Linked DNA regions of Homo sapiens: region 2 is linked to region 1. The links are contacts of gene promoters, found by promoter capture Hi-C in blood cells and fetal thymus (Javierre and others, 2016). All regions are on one chromosome and are shown on one strand. Each heading gives the region's core, a stretch centred on a gene start or on the middle of the fragment in contact. The rest is flanking DNA. Distances are from core to core; before and after follow the strand shown. Region 1 holds the start of DYNC2LI1 (dynein cytoplasmic 2 light intermediate chain 1). Region 2 holds the start of COX7A2L (cytochrome c oxidase subunit 7A2 like).

What was found. Contacts are between HindIII fragments. The CHiCAGO score rates a contact against its expected background, and 5 or more counts as called.
Region 2: a fragment that was not itself captured here is called in contact with the fragment with the promoter of DYNC2LI1 in region 1 in 1 of 17 cell types (monocytes); the score reaches 8.0 in monocytes.

What each region holds. Positions count from the first base shown.
Region 1 is chr2:43,770,784-43,776,031 of GRCh38, forward strand. It overlaps DYNC2LI1 (dynein cytoplasmic 2 light intermediate chain 1), which reads left to right and starts at 3,256. Exons shown (of 13, transcript NM_016008.4): 1 at 3,256-3,363. The coding sequence starts at 3,356. LOC105374571 (a long non-coding RNA gene) reads left to right here and starts at 3,370. Exons shown (of 2, transcript XR_940033.2): 1 at 3,370-3,763; 2 at 4,090-4,209. It also overlaps the pseudogene RN7SKP66. RefSeq lists an enhancer at 3,142-3,191. The HindIII fragment of the contact is 6,929 bases long and covers 1-5,248 here.
Region 2 is chr2:42,358,844-42,364,091 of GRCh38, forward strand. It overlaps COX7A2L (cytochrome c oxidase subunit 7A2 like), which reads right to left and starts at 2,374. Exons shown (of 3, transcript NM_004718.4): 1 at 2,247-2,374. The coding sequence starts at 2,318. RefSeq lists enhancers at 783-862, 1,547-2,291, 2,065-2,384, 2,292-3,035, 3,025-3,114 and 1 more and a silencer at 2,665-2,834. The HindIII fragment of the contact is 1,989 bases long and covers 2,990-4,978 here.

The sequences.
Region 1 (5,248 bases), core at 2,006-4,505:
CCACTCAGGGATAGGGTATCATCAACACTGCTTTCATGTACTGACTATTCTATCGAAACATCTTCACATGAGGTTATCACTGACCACTTAACTGCCAAGTCCAGCAGACCCCAAATGGTCCAACTGTCTGCTGGACGATATCTCAAACTCACCATGTCCTCTAAACCTGCTTCTCCTGCTCTGTGCCCCTTAAAATTGGTTAAGAGGATCACCAGTTCATCCATCAAGAAGGAAACATTGACTTTTCTCCCTTTTACCAACGTCTTACTTTCTACTGTCTAGTAATTGTATTAGATAGAACTCTTTTTGCTGTAAATTCCAAAATTCAACTTGAACTAGCTTAGACAAAAATGAGAAATTGTATTACAAGGATATTAGGATGTCTCATATAATCAAAGAGCAAGCTGAACAACCAAGCCATAAGAAAGGTGAGGACACAGGCAAGCCTTAGGGACAATTAGAACCATGAGACATATGCCAGCACTTTCCCTTCATATTGATGTGTGTCTGATGTGTGCTCACTAACTACAAAATAATTCATTTAGCATAAAATATGCTAATTTCCTCTAGAGGTAGAGTGACTTACTTTTCCCAATTCTAGTTTGAAAAATTTCAGGGAAGGACTGTGATTAACCCAGCTCATGTTAGGTGTTCACTCTGAACCACCCCAAATGTACTCAACATTAGGAGAATGCTTAAGTACATTACGAAAAATCTATGCAGTGAAATATTCTGCAACCATCAAAGTTATGTTTATGATGCAGTTTTAAAATTTGATATGGTGCATTTTTAAAATTTGATATGGGGAAATACATGTTAAAATCAGGACATTAATTAACTTTACAATTAATCTCAACTTTGTAAGAAAAAAGATTAGAATGAAACATATCAAATGTATTTCCAAAATACCTAATAGTTACTACTTCTGGCTTATGCTTATTTTACCCTCTTAATTTTCTGTGCATACGTTTTTTCCCCTACAATTAGCTTATATAACTTTGAAAACAAGGGAAAAAATTTTAAAACTCTGCCTGTCACTTTCCTAGCTATTGTTAATAGCCTCCGCATGGTCTTCTAGATGCCAAACCACCCTTCACACAACTGCAAAAAATTATCTCACTGAAATTCATGTCTAATCATGGCACACTCCTATTTTTAAACCCTATTTGGTTTCTCATAACCAACACAGTAAAGTCTAGACTACAGCATCCTTCACAGTAGCCCCATCTACCTGCCCAGTTTGCTCTTCCACTGTAGCTCCACCAGGCACTTTATATGATCGCAACCCAAACTATTCAGTTTCCCAAATACATCCTGCACACGCCTTTACCCTTCTGCACTGTTGCTCATTCCATCCAGAAAGCAGCATAAAATTGTCTCCTTCTCCTTCCATTCTTACCTTAAGAACAATCTTCATCTACCCAGGAAAGTCACTTTCTTTGCCCAAGTATGAAGGCCTCAAGAGGAATGAGGGAAGAAAGGGGAACTCACCTGCTCAGTCAGATCAACTGAATCAACCCTGAATCAATGCTGCTGATCAGGGCCCAGCCGGATCACCTTCACTTTCCTGGTTACCAAGCTCCCTCCTTCAAACACCTCTCCCCGTTATTCAAACAAGTGTACTTTTGAAGTACTCGTACTGAGTATTGTGCCCAGTACATAGCAAGCACTTGGCAAAAATGTTAGCTGTCGTTATTGCTATCAATATCAACAGGCCTTCCTAACTAGCATGCAAAAGTATTCTGAAGTTCTAGAACCCAAATCATTACAATTCATTACAATCTGTCCCATATCAGTTTGTGAGCTTAAAGTCTGGCTTAGCACCAGGCTATAGCTGTTGATTCAATGACAGATGTATAAGCCTCCTTTGAAAAATCATCCTTTCTTCGGTGAGCTCTACTCCCATTAATTCCCTTCCTATGTGCAGCTTAGTGTTCTTTACGTCTCCAAAATATACCTAGGTGTTGGGAGGATTTTGTTCCCAATGACTTTATTTGAAATAAACACCCTTTTATCAACCATCAGCCTTGTTTCCAGGAATGTGTTCCTTGTGTTTCTTTGTTCGAAGTTGCTGACCAGCAGCTTATCACACAATAATAACAAGCATTAAGCAGTTATAATGTGTCAGACACCCACGTAAGTTATGTTTTACCTACATTTATCTCATTTAAGATTCACAATCTTTCCCGCTTTACAGGATCAGAAATTCAGTGATTTACCCGATGTGGCAATGTGACAACTTAGCCAGCGTGGCCAAGTCAGAACTTGAACCTAGGTCCATCTCACGCCAAAGCCCATGTACTTGAACATCGCACCATAGAAATCAAGCCGAATAGTAGAGGACTGGAGGGAGGGTATCTCCTTCAAATATTCAGGGCATCTTAGGCTAGAAAGCCTGAGTCTACTCAGCATTCAATACAGACCAAATACTATCAGTGCCATGGTTTCACCATCTCCTTCAGGCATAATTGGTCACTTGCCCTCATGCAATTTTTGTACCTCTATACAATAGTTTAGATCACTCACTTCCTTAGGTGCTTATAATTAGCTGAGTGTGTGTCTTTCTTAAGGGCAGCGATCTTTTCTTACTCATCTCTTTATTCCTTATTCTGTGTAGCATAGGGCCTTGCATATTCAATGATTGTTATTTATTTCAATGCTCGTTATTTATTTGGACACTCCTGCAGATCTATAAAGAGACCACAAAGTTCCAAAAGAAAATAATCTACATTCACAAAGTAAATGAAGTATGTAGGAGATGCACTTGCTTCATTAATTTATTAATAAATACACAATGTGCTATTGAATAAAACTTGAAACAACTAAACATCTAGAAAGTTGGAAAATATTAAAATTACGTGCCTTATTTTAAATTTTAAAGTCCGAATATTCCTTGCTTCTAGTAAATTAGCAGAAAACAGCTCAAGAGATTGTTACACCCTCTATTCCTAAATCATGGCGATTGGGAAGAAAAAAGTGAAAGATGAGAGAGAGAGAGAGCAGAGACCCTTGGCATATAGTTGACACCCAGTAAAAAAATTTTAAAATAAAAGAAAATTGCTTTTAGATCCCAGGTTTGTAACCCCTTATCATCTCGTTCTAGGAGGTAACAAGGAGTTACTAACTTGGGATCTAAAAGCAATCCTAAGGCTTGAGGCCGAGAATGAGATGTAAAAGGACTCCTGAAAACTACATTTCCCATGATGCCCGTCTCCCCACGCAACCGCGGCCGCGACGTCGCTCCCATGGCAACCCAGAAGGCCTCACTCCCAGACTCCTTGCGGAGCTCGCCGCCTGATTCTAGGCTGGTCACTACTCCGAGCCTGTGACGTTTGCGGCAGCCAGGCCGTCGACGATGCCCAGGTATTCCCTGAACCCGGCTTGCGTGGGAAAGGCTACTGAGAGTATTCCTGGAGAGAGGAAGCCCAGGCGGGACCAGCTGTTGGAAGATTGTGGGGGTGGCTACTTGCCACCAGGATATGCAGGGTCGGGGACCTAGGAATCAGCCTTGAGCATAAAGATTCTGCCGCAAACAGGAAAGAAAAGAAAGTTCCCTAGGTAGAAAAGTGAGAGATTTGGAAAGATCAGCAACTCCACCCATTCAATGATTGAATAAAAGTTTCTTGCAGGCCAGAGACTACTTCCGGAGCAGGACATTCGGCGATGAGCTAGACCACAAAGCCTCCTCTCCCCAGGGGCCTCCCCTCCTGGTGCGGGGGTTCGCAGTAATAAGCGAGGGGAAACTTGGAAGGCACTGTGGAAAGTATAACATCACTTTTAAGGGGGGAAACGGGAGAGGGTTTGTAAACTATATTCTAGCTGTTCAATTCTATGATATTCATTTTAATTACCTGTTCACAAGATATTCCTAAACCTTTTCTCAACAATTTATGCTTAAGCACGTCGGGGAGAGGGGTCAGGGAGTGCATCACAGAGCAGGATAAATCTTTTTCTCTCCTTGGGATAGTGTGGAGAATTGTCAGCTTTCCATCAAGGGATAATTGGTTAGTTATAAAGCTATGGTTATACTTCCCGATTTCCGCAGGTGTCGTGGCTGACTGCAGCACCTCCGTCTTTCCTCTCTGCTAGGTATTTGGAAAGCAGATCCTCATATTTTGAAAGAATGTTGTGTAAATGAAGAGCAAACAGCCCGAAACTGAGTTCTGAAGGCTCACCTGTGAAATAAATGCATGAATTTTAGTGCAAACATTTAAGGACTCCTGTTTTGACCCTTTTTCTTATTCCTGGTTCTTGAATAGTATAATTACAAGCCCTCAATAATTTTTGTAATTGTATAGGCCATGCCCTAAACTACATATATATTTTAACAATTATGACAATCCTATAAAGCTGATACTCTTTTTTATTGGCTTTTTAGAGATAGAGAAACAATTGAGCCTGGGGAATAGCACAGAGGATTGCATATATTAGGTGCTCAATAAATATTTGTTTAATTAATAAAGGAATGAAGGATTTAAAGAGGTTAGGTAGTTTTCCCAAGTTCACATACATAGGAAGTAGCAGAATCAGGCTAGGACCTATCAGGTCTTGCCCATGGTTAGTTTTTAGTTTAATATTCCATTTTCACTTAGGCTTTAATTAATATATATATGATTTTATCGTGTAAAGTTATATATCTGTGTAAAGAAATCAATGAAAGGATTGTTTTCAAAATGTTTGTGGTTTTAGGGTTTTTTTTTCTTTCTTTCTTTATGGTTTTTTTTTGGCGGGGGGAGACAAGGTCTTGCTGTGTCACCCAGGCTGGAGTGCAGTGATGTCAACATGCTTACTGCAGCCTCGACCTCCAGGGCTCAGGCAATCCTCCTGCCTCAGCCTCCCTAGTAGCTGGGACCACGAGTGCATGTCACCACACCCAGCTAATTTCTTTTCTTTTTCTTTTTTTATTTTCTTTTTTTTTTTTTTAGACAGAGTCTCGCTCTGTTGCCCAGGCTGGAGTGCAGTGGCACGATCTTGGCTCAATACAACATCCACCTCCTGAGTTCAGGTGATTCTCATGCCTCAGCCTCCTGAGTAGCTGGAGTTACAGACACCCGCCACCACACCTGGCCAATTTTTTTTTTTTTTTTTTTTTTTTTTTTTTAGTAGAGATGGGGTTTTACCATGTTGGCCAGGCTGGTCTTGAACTCCTGACCTCAAGTGATCCACCCACCTTGGCCTCCTAAAGTGCTGGGATTACAGGTGTGAACCACCACTCCCAGCCTCAGCCAATTTTTTTTGTTTGTTTTCT
Region 2 (5,248 bases), core at 2,734-5,233, 1.4 Mb before region 1:
ACATAAACCAAGTGTGGTGGTACACATCTGTAACCCCAGCCACTCAGGGGGCTGAGGTGACAGGACTGCCTGAGCCGGGGAGTTCGAGATCAGGCTGTGCAACACAGCAAGAACCTGTCTCAAAAAATATTTTAAAAAAATAAATAAAAGAACATCTACTACCACCAACAGAATAAACTGTGATATATTTATAAAATGAAATCCCACAGAAGAATAAGAGGATAAAAGGAATTAACTACTGATACGTACAACACGGACTAACCTCAAAAATATTTTTTGAGCAGCCAGACACGGCGGCTCACATCTGTAATTCCAACATTTTCAGAGGCAAAAGCAGGACGATTACTTGAGCTCAGGAGTGAGTCTACAGTGAACTGTGACTGTGCCATTGCACTCCAGCCTGGGTCAGAGCTGGTTCCATTTACATGAAGTTCAAAAAAAGGCAAAACTATCTATTTATGATGATAAAAGTCAGAATAAGAAGGTGGCAGGGATTGACAGAGGGTACAAGGGAACTTCCTGGGATGATGTAACATCTTGCATATTGAGGGAGGTGTGGTTATACAGTACATGGGTTTGTCCAAACTCATCAAACTGTAACATTTAATATCCATACACTGGAGAATACATTTCATAGAAGCAGATGATAGAAATGGCCATTTTCTCACATAATCTGTAAAAGAAGTGCAACACTGCTGACTATTCCTTCCTTACAAGTCATTACCAATTCGGTTTCAGTGAGACCACACTGGTTTCCCTTCTCATCCGGACTATTCTTTAAACACATTCTCCTTCTCCACCCTTCCCTCATGTTTCTATACTCTAACTATAATCCAACCTTTCTTCCCTACAAATTACCACCTATGGGCTGAAGACACCCAAGTTTATTAAACTCCATATTCAAAAATCTAGCTGCTACCAAGCATGACATATCACAAACTCAACATTTATAAACCCTAAACTCTTCCTTCCCGTTCCCACCGCAACTCCCCCACTAACCCCCGAAAAAAAAAAAAAAAACTTGCCCTTCTTATCTGAGATTAGAATCATCTGTTTTTGTTTTTAGAGACAGGGTCTCACTATGTTGCCCCAGGCTGATCTCAAACTCCTGGGCTCAAGCGACCCTCGGCCTCGGCCTTCCAAAGTGCTGTGATTTACAGGCGTGAGCCACGGTACCAGACCTGAAATCTTTCTTAAACATCTGCCTCTTGGGCAAGCTGCAGTGTCCCACAGAAAAAGGAAATGAAGCAACAGTAATGGAGTATCCTTTACACCTCATCTGGGCCCCTCACTACTGCAGTCTAACTGCGTATCTCACCGACACTTCCCACACTTCTCTAGAGGATTAGGAGGGAATATACTATCTCAGACAGCTTCTGGTGAACAGTTAACACTTATCCAGAACCAACCACCTGCCCAAACTGCTAGTCACTTGACACACTTCATTTAATGTGTACTAACGCCGCCCTGGATGAAACTGAGCTCACAATAAATTAAATAACTTGGCCAAGGTCACACAATTAAAGCGGAAAACGCCATGATTTGAAAAGGCACGTCTGGGGCTCTAAAATCCCTCATGTTTACCCCCAACACATGCTGGAGAGTCAAACTCCAATTGGTAGAATCTGCGTGAAATGGAATACTTTTCAGACAACCCAAACAACGAGCATCTGTCAAATATTTTACAATCGGGAAAGTGTAACCTCGCTGCATGCAACTTCCCTCCCTGGACGTGTTAAGTAACCTGTTAAATTTCCCAACCCAGATCATAGCCCCCCAACCCCCTGCACCATGGTTTCTCTAAACGCCTTTATAGCCCCGCGCTCTCTAATCTCGAGCTCAAGTGAGGCTGCCTATGGGGCTCTGGCAGATGACAAACGACAAGGAGGCCGAAAGCCAGATGTCTTCGAATTGAGGGAGAAGGCCGGACCTCTGACTCGGGTCACACTGGGGACCCCCACAAACCATCCCTTTTAGACAAGTGACCCCGGGGGTCACCTTGACCCCTGCAGTGAGCCAGACCAAACTTCCACGCCAGGCCAGCCCCCGCCAGGTGAGCAGGTACACAAAAAGAAGCCTCAGTGACCACCGTACGCTGGTGTGGAGAGGCCCCGGGAGGTGCAAGGAGAACAGAGACGAACTCGACCGCGGGCAGAAGCCTCCCCTGGCTCCAACGCCGCGACTGCCTGTCGCCGAGGCTAGGGCCGCCACTTCTCATGTCCGAGCTGGCCAGGCGCCACTCGTACCTGCGGGCTATAGGCCTCCGAAGCCCATGCTCCTGCCAACTTCTGCGTGAAGCCACTAAACTTGTAGTACATGACGCCCAGAGTCCGGCTTCCCGCATCCGCTGCCAACGCGACCGCCCCAGAGAAGGACCCCGCCTCCCCGGCTGTGGTCCCGAGACTCAGCGCAAGGACCCGGTGCTGGGACTAGGGCTGCCCGAAGATCGCCTAACTTAAAACCTGCACACTTAAGCCGCATTGGGGAACCAAAAGCCAGGGTTCTCAGGACCACGAAAGGCAAAACCAGCTCTAAGAGAGCACGCAAAGTCGCTGTGGCGGAGTCTGTAGGAAATATGAAGTTCCCTCTTTCCCCCATTCAGATTTGGGCAGTGCCACGACAACTCAAGAAATGCGCAAGCGCTCCACGGACTAAGCCCGGCGGACTAAGCCCGGCAGTGTCGGAGTCAGGTGGAGCATGCTTTAGGAGGGGCGGGCTCCAGGCGGGGCCTGGGGGGGAGAGGGCGGTGATTGGTGGGCGTGGTCTGGGTAGGGGCGGGGCTACATCGAAGCCGGTTGGGAATTCCACCATCCGAGAGAGTCTGTGCTGCGGAGCCACCGTCTGGTCGTCGGGTTGAAGGCGTCTCTTGCTTTACCGAACTTTAACTGATCGTAGTCTCATTTATTTCCTTCCGACCTAGAGCACCTCTTATCCAGAAGCCACCACCTGCTGTTGCTCAGTCTGCCCAGGAGTATAGACTTGTCGGCCAAGCTTCCCCTGGCAACCTGGGAGTTGAAGCAAATAAGAAAATTTGGAAGCACCTGCTGAAGGCTGTTTAGTACCCAGGGCTGTTGGGAGATTTGCCCCAATAATATAAAAGTAGCCTCCTGGGCTTTGTGCAGAGGAAATACACATGCAGAGTGATCTAAAGCTCAGGTACCAGGATGTAAATGTCACACGGTTTCTCAGAACTGGTTTTTATTCTCACCTGAGTTTTAAGGTCATTGATTATTCATCCTTTTCCTGGCCTCTGCTCTTTGCGATAAATGAGGTAGGGGGAGGGTGATCAGAAACACTTGTAAAATCTGGACCTTGAGCCTGAAAGATCTGGAACTACCACTTTCAGTTCTGGTAGTATTCGCTTCAGTTCAATTTAAATATGTCTGTTAAGCCTGTGCTGTGTGCAAGGTACTGTGTAAAAGGAGTATACTAGTTTCTTACTCTCCAGGGATGGACTCAGGCTTTTCTTAGCTTCATCATCTAACCATAGGTTTACACAAGCATATTCTAGATGCACTTATGAAATCATGTTGCAAATTGATGGATGATACTAACCTATATATAGCATTGCCCTAAACTCATTTAATCTTCACAACAATCCTATAAGGTAAATGCTATTATCATCTCCATTTTAGAATACAGGAAAATGACGCCTGGAGAAGCTAAGTAACTTGCTCAGGTCAGGGATAAGTGGCAGAGCTAGGCATTTGGCTCAAGACTTCCTACTGTTAAGCACTATGTTACAAATAAATAGATATGAAGCCATTCTGAAAAGAGGAGGATCAAGGCTGAGCATTCCAGGGTGAGGGTGTACACCAGCATCCTGGTTGCAGGCTTACGTTCAAGAGCCCCAAGTATTCAGCACCGCCAATATGTTGTAAAGGTTTCAGCGAATTCATGTAAGCCAGCCCAAAGTTGCCACTTTTACAAAGAGACACTGTGATATAATGGAAAGAACATGCAATTTGGGTTTATGTCCATATTTCTCCAAGGATAAGTGGTTTGGGACTAGTGATTTCCTTTTTTTTTTTTTTTTTTTTAAATTCTTTTTGAAACAGGGTCTCACTCTGTCCCAGGCTGGAGTACAGTGGTGTGATCTCGGCTCATTGCAGCCTTGACTTCCCAGGCTGAGGTGATTCTCCTACCTCAGTCTCCCGGGTAGCTGGAACCACAGATGCGCGCCACCACGCCTGGCTAATTTTTTGTATTTTTAGTAGAGATGGGGTTTCACCATGTTTCCCAGGCTAGTCTCAAACTCCTGGGCTCAAGTGATCTGCCAAACTCAAGACTCCCAAAATGCTGGGATTACAGGCATGAGCCACCGTGCCAGGCCCACCCCATGTTTTGATACTGAATAGATTCAGGAAGATTTTTCTACGACAAAAAGTTCGACTACCTCAAAAGAAAATGATCCATTGACATTAGCCTTCTTGAGTCCCAGGCGCTAGCAAATATTGAGTGAAAGAAAAAGCCTTTCATAGAGTTTAGATTGAAAAGAGAAATTAAATGATTTGGGACAGCTACTGTCTCCATCCCACTGACTTCTGGACATATTTTGGAAGAAGAAACGAAAGAATATTCTCTAACTTTTAGCAGCACTAAGGTGTACCAGCTTCTTTTATAAGGTGCCTGTCAACACTGGTTATTTTCTTAAAGTTCCTGCCATCTGATTTTAGATCCTGCAAGACATAAATTAAGAATCCTGAAAATGTTACAACAGCCAGGCTGTTCAGTGGGAGATAAAATGTCAGTAGCAGAGTGTGGGTTGGGATGTCACATGGAATGGCTGATCATGGGAAGATTTTGTCTCATTTCCCAAATAAAACACAGCACACTCTGACAGTACTAAGGCACCCTATTCTCATTCGTATTTGCATATCCCATCCAACATCAAAGACAATCTTTTTTTATCACGATCCCTTCAGGTTGTTCCCCACATTCTATTCTGAAGGGAAGTGACCACGACTCAGAGTAGAGAAGCTTGCCAATCACCAGGTGAACTGAGTGAGTGCAAATGCCAGTCCAGCTCCTGGTGAATCTGAATGCCGCTGCTTCTCCATTTGTGAGGGGTGTGTGCTAATGGCCTCTGGCAGGCCGCTCTGTGAAAGCGCCTGGGGAATGGATGGAAAACCAACATAAAATTTAAATTGGGTAATACTGAGTAGAGATAGGAACCAACTGTGAAATAGTTGTTAATTTTTTAAATTCTCTCATTTTTTCCAAGCTGACTTTTAAAAAATTGACAGTG